2 separate regions of the Homo sapiens genome follow, and region 1 is linked to region 2. The links are contacts of gene promoters, found by promoter capture Hi-C in blood cells and fetal thymus (Javierre and others, 2016). All regions are on one chromosome and are shown on one strand. Each heading gives the region's core, a stretch centred on a gene start or on the middle of the fragment in contact. The rest is flanking DNA. Distances are from core to core; before and after follow the strand shown.

Evidence for each region. The method cuts DNA at HindIII sites, captures the fragments that hold promoters and counts their contacts. A CHiCAGO score of 5 or more calls a contact.
Region 1: a fragment that was not itself captured here is called in contact with the fragment with the promoter of HAND2 in region 2 in 2 of 17 cell types (total CD4 T cells and total CD8 T cells); the score reaches 6.0 in total CD4 T cells.

What each region holds. Positions count from the first base shown.
Region 1 is chr4:173,012,301-173,015,000 of GRCh38, reverse strand. All of the region lies in intron 11 of GALNTL6 (polypeptide N-acetylgalactosaminyltransferase like 6), which reads right to left. Among named protein-coding and RNA genes, the nearest start is that of GALNT7, 160 kb to the left of the region's middle. The HindIII fragment of the contact is 557 bases long and covers 1,141-1,697 here.
Region 2 is chr4:173,528,806-173,531,577 of GRCh38, reverse strand. HAND2 (heart and neural crest derivatives expressed 2) reads left to right here and starts at 1,349. Exons shown (of 2, transcript NM_021973.3): 1 at 1,349-2,772. The coding sequence starts at 2,289. HAND2-AS1 (HAND2 antisense RNA 1) reads right to left here and starts at 1,207. Exons shown (of 5, transcript NR_136196.1): 1 at 1,039-1,207; 2 at 500-611. The HindIII fragment of the contact is 6,850 bases long and covers 1-2,772 here.

The DNA of each region.
Region 1 (2,700 bases), core at 170-2,669, 520 kb after region 2:
GAAAACAGCATGAAGGTAACTGCCCTCATGATTAAATTACCTCCCACTGGGTCCCTCCCATGACACATGGGGATTATGCGAACTACAATTCAAGATGAGATTTGGGGACACAGCCAAACCATATCACAATGTTAACTCTTATTTCTTTGCTTTAATATTAATGTGATATGTGTCATGTTGCCTGGGTCCGTTTGTATTATATGAATAAGGTCACTGGATTTGGTACTGCCAATACACTTATCTCTTGCTCTTGCTACCTGACTTGAGACAGCAGAAAATATTTTTCTCTGTCTGGATTGTGATGTTTTATTTCATTGTTATGAGGTTTGCAGAAACCTGAGATACAGCATGTTTCTCCTTGCAGTTTGCACCCATCAGTTCGCTCTGTCTTGATAATGAGACTCTTTTTTCCCAAAGAGAGAAAAAAGAAAGGAAAAAAATCTGTCCCCTGGATGCACACATTTGCTTGCTTCTGTCTTTGTGAACCTTCCCCTAGGCCCTGGAGAGGGAGCCAGTGTTTGCTTCCTCGGGAGGACGAAAGCTGGGCTGCAACACTTGCTCCCCAGCATGACATCAGAGCCTGCTGCTGGGCCTGCAGAGTGGGAACAGCCAAACTAGACCAAGGGGGTTCCTCCCCGCCACTCCTCTCCCTTGGACTCAATGGGAGCTGGGGAATGTTCTTTCCAGACCTTATAGTCTTATTAGGATCTATTTTTGTTTTTCTTTCTTGATCCCTAAAGGAAGCATAATGCTACCATGATATCAAACAGCTATGCAGATTGCCCTGGCAAAATGAATCATACATTTGCTTCCTTCACAGAAACCACGTTAGTCACCACCAGTGTTCTGCAGCAGAAGGCATTTTCTTATACAGGTCCTTCAATGGACTCTTTTTTATTTCCCATGTAACAATTTTGTTTTTTCCTTTTTTTAATTTTTGCCACTTTTTTTTTTGGAAAAAAACGGATTATTTCAACTCTAATAAGTCTCCTTTTGTGTTTTTTGAATGTTTTTGAATTAAAAAGAAAATCCATAATTGTCATGTTCCGATATGCCTTCCTCATGCAGGAATTTTAATCTAAATGTAGAAGAGTGCTTCCTAATTCTTGTAAGTCACTGAGTGATATATTGAATAAAGCTTACAGTTAATTACTGGTGAATGAAACAGCTTGTAATGTTTTAACCTCCAAGTCAATATATGGCAATATTTCAAACATGATGCATTTTCCACCACTTATCAACCTTATTTAATCCTACTGTAGCTTCATTTTTAGGATCTCTAGAGACAGGAAATCTTTTTAAAGAGCTGTATTAACTGGTCTTTCTGTTCTGCCTATGTAGTTTTCTGCTTGTCTAGTGCTGCCCTCTGGTGACCATTTCTTGAATTACGGGCCATAGATTTTTGCATTTTAGCCTGGGGGTGGGAGGTGGGGAGTTGGGGGACGTGGGGGGTGCGGGGAGTGAACCAGCAATTTTTAAAGTGTATGCAATATCGTTGCCTTTGTTTATATCCATGTTCCGCTGTCAAATAAAATCTGCAGGCCAGAGAAGATTTCATTCTAGAGCATTACTGGATAGAAATACTAAGCCCAGTTCAGACATTAAGGCCTGCTTTATATTCACCAGCTGGCCATGTGTGTTTCTTAGTTGGGTTGAATAGAGATGGTAGAGAGGAATTTAGCCCAAGAAATGAAGCTTTTCCTTATGGTTTCCTCCTTTTTCTTTTTAAAAAAGTTCTTTTCCACTCTAGATGCCAGCCTTACCGATAGCTTCTAAAGCCTTCTCTCTTGCTCCCAGGCTGAAGTCAGAATTGCTTGTTGGAGTTAACAGTCCAACACCATTCCTCAGGTCCCCAGTAACATCCCCATGGAGCTTATAGAAACAGACAGAGGAAGGAGGAGGCAAATAACTTTTCACTGATATTTGATTCCTATCAATAAATCTGGGAGTCACAGAGCCTTCTATAAACCCCTCTGGATATATGTATATAATCAGCCACCACGCCTGGCTGATTTTTGTATTTTTAGTAGAGACGGGGTTTCAAAATGTTAGCCAGGCTGGTCTCGAACTCCTGACCTCAAGTGAGCCACCCGCCTCAGCCTCCCAAAGTGCTGGGATTATAGGCGCGAGTCACCGTGCCCAGCCATGCAGGGCGCATTTGAGTGAATAATAACTAGTATTTGCTGACTATGCTGGGAACAGATAAATGAAGCCAAAGTCCCAGCTGCCTTGGACCTGAGAGAGGTTTCTAATTTGGTATTAGCATAAAGGGATTTGTGAGTGTTTGAGAGAAGGAAGGCAGGAGGGAGAGGATATTACTCTGCACCTGCTGCATGTGCAAGATGCTGCCCCAAGATTTATTCTCCTAACCACCCTGTCCAAGATGGAAGAACTATGGCCTAGAAAGATTTCACAACTTCACAAGGCCACATGGTTTAAACTAAAATCCAGGTTGGCCTGGCTACAAGGCCCACAGTCCTCCTAGAATACCATGAGGCTGTGGGGAGAGGGTTCAAAGATTGGATCAGTGGTTAGGGGAGAGGCACTGTTGATGGACTGAACATCTCTGGATTGTATTGTGGACTTGTTCTGTGGCTGTTTTCCTCGCATCATGATGCTCTGCATTGTAATGCGTGGTAGAGGGCAGGGAGGGGCAGTGAGGTGGGGCGAGGGAGGTGAATCTCAACACATCTGGACAAC
Region 2 (2,772 bases), core at 100-2,599:
GGCGCCGCAGGCCCTCGCCTCCCTCTAATTTACAGCCCGCGGGCTCCTGTTGACACCGTTTTCCACACCGAACTCCTTCGGGTGGAATCTGCATATACACATCAGCCTCCCCTCTCGGCTTGGGGCCAAGCCTGGGGTGATTTCAGCTCCTGCCATTTACCACCCGCCCTCGCCGCACGTGAGCCTTCTCAAGAAGCTCATGCCACACGGGCGCTGCGGCCCGGGTGCCCCGCGGCCCGGTGACTTACAAGTGGAGATCCATTTTCCGTTATAATGCGTTCAAGATCACCAAGGCCAGCAGTCTCAACATCCACGAGCCGTCCTCCCGGCCTGCCTCTTAAACTGGCGTTTAATGGTTCCCCTCCGATAACTAAACCTGCTTTCCACAGATGCCCGCTTTTATGAGGGAGGCAGGAATGCAGAGATATATTTATATGTTTGTTCATAAAAACTGGAAAATAAGCTCTGAACACGCCGTAAAAAATATTCAGTTACTTACCAAACAGGCTAGTTAAACCAGGGGAACACCGATACCAGCCACACTACAGATTCGGGGAATCGAGGTGCCCGCACTTCAAAATCGCCCAAGGTCTTCGTAGGGACTGGTGTCCCTGAAGGATGTGGAAATAACAGCATTTACAATCGGCTTGACATGTTCGCCCGGAGGACTCAGCCGTCATCTCCAAAGTTTGCCGCAATAACGTGAGCCACCCCAAACAGCTCTAACCGGGGTAACTTGGTGGGTAACTCAATAGCCACTGAGACCGGCGTTTCGAGCCTGTAAACGGGTCAAAGAAACACCCTTCTCCAGCCGCTCCTCGTCCCTGCTGGGGCAAAGAGCGCCAGCTCCCAGCCGCGCCTTTGTGGGGGCCCCCACCGCCCGTCACGAGGCTCCCGGCGCCCCTGCATAAAATTGTAAGAGGCTGCCTGCGTATATTTTCTTACCTCGATTACCTACAAAGCACTTCGAAAAGCAATACCTGCGTTTTCTTTCTTTCTTTCTTTTCAACCAGAAAAGAGAGCAGAGTGATACTGTACCTGGTTAGAGATTCTTCAATATTTGAGACTTGGGGGGAAAATATTTTAATAGTGAAGCATCTGTTAAACACTTGCATTATCCTCTGACTGATAAAAAAAGTTTTTTTAACCCTGCCCCCCCCCCCCGCCAAGTTTTAATTATCTTATGGTTATGAGGAGGTAGCCAATCCTGGAAGAGGACCTCGGCAATTAGCAACGTGAACATCAAAAAGTTTTATTGCCGAGAGCTCGAGGCGCCGCCCCTGCCGCCCCGGGATTGGCGTGAGGAGCCTCTGACGACATATATTAACCCGAGCGGCCCTAAAGATGTAGCTGTACATGGAGATCTTGCTGGGAAAATCCGCTTGCTCCCCTCACGTCGTCCAGCCCAGGAGAACCACCGCCGTCACCCCGGAGCTTCCTCGGCCACCGCGCAGAGCCCTCCGAGAGCCCGAGCCGCGGTCTTCGAGCTCCAAGGCTCATTCAGGGCCCCAGATCCTTGCCCCGAAAGGAGAGGATCTGAGAAAATGGATGCACTGAGACCTCTCTGAAAACCCTCCGAGAGAGCGCGAGAGGAGCGAGGACACGTTACTCGCAGCTAAAATCACATTTAAGGACCAAAACAACAACAACCAAAAATTTCATTAAAACAATAAGCGCCCAAGAACCCAGATCGGGCTGGTGGGGGGAGGGGAAGAGGCGGGAAGGGGAGGGTCGCACGGAGGTAGCTTTGCAGTGAGCAGTCGACCCCGCCGCCCCCCGGCACAGCTGGACCGGCTCCTCCAGCCGCGGCTCAGACTCGCCCCTGGATTCCGGGTTAGCTTCGGTGCCAGGACCGCGGCCCGGGCTTGGATTCCCGAGACTCCGCGTACCAGCCTCGCGGGAGCCCCGGCACCTTTGTATGAGCACGAGAGGATTCTGCCTCCGCGCAGCAGCCCGGGAAGCAGGAGCCGAAGCGCGGGCCGTGGAGCAAGGCGGGAACCGGAGGCGGCGGCGGCGGCGGCCAGGGGCGCACGGTGCCAGGACCAGCTCGCCGCGCCCCATGGGGAGCCGGCGGCCGCAGCGCTGCTGAGGCGGGCCCGGCTGGCCAGGCGGGGGGACGGGGCCCGGGCTGCAGCAGCCCCCTCTGCGGCTGCCGGGCGGGCCCGGGCGCCCGGGGGCTGGGGGGTGGGGGGTGGGGGAGGACGCCGAGCGCTGAGGCAGGGGCCCGGGCCGAGGGCGCGGCGGGGCTGCGCGCACGCTGGGGCGCGTGGAGGGGCGCGGAGGGCGAAATGAGTCTGGTAGGTGGTTTTCCCCACCACCCGGTGGTGCACCACGAGGGCTACCCGTTTGCCGCCGCCGCCGCCGCAGCTGCCGCCGCCGCCGCCAGCCGCTGCAGCCATGAGGAGAACCCCTACTTCCATGGCTGGCTCATCGGCCACCCCGAGATGTCGCCCCCCGACTACAGCATGGCCCTGTCCTACAGCCCCGAGTATGCCAGCGGCGCCGCCGGCCTGGACCACTCCCATTACGGGGGGGTGCCGCCGGGCGCCGGGCCCCCGGGCCTGGGGGGGCCGCGCCCGGTGAAGCGCCGAGGCACCGCCAACCGCAAGGAGCGGCGCAGGACTCAGAGCATCAACAGCGCCTTCGCCGAACTGCGCGAGTGCATCCCCAACGTACCCGCCGACACCAAACTCTCCAAAATCAAGACCCTGCGCCTGGCCACCAGCTACATCGCCTACCTCATGGACCTGCTGGCCAAGGACGACCAGAATG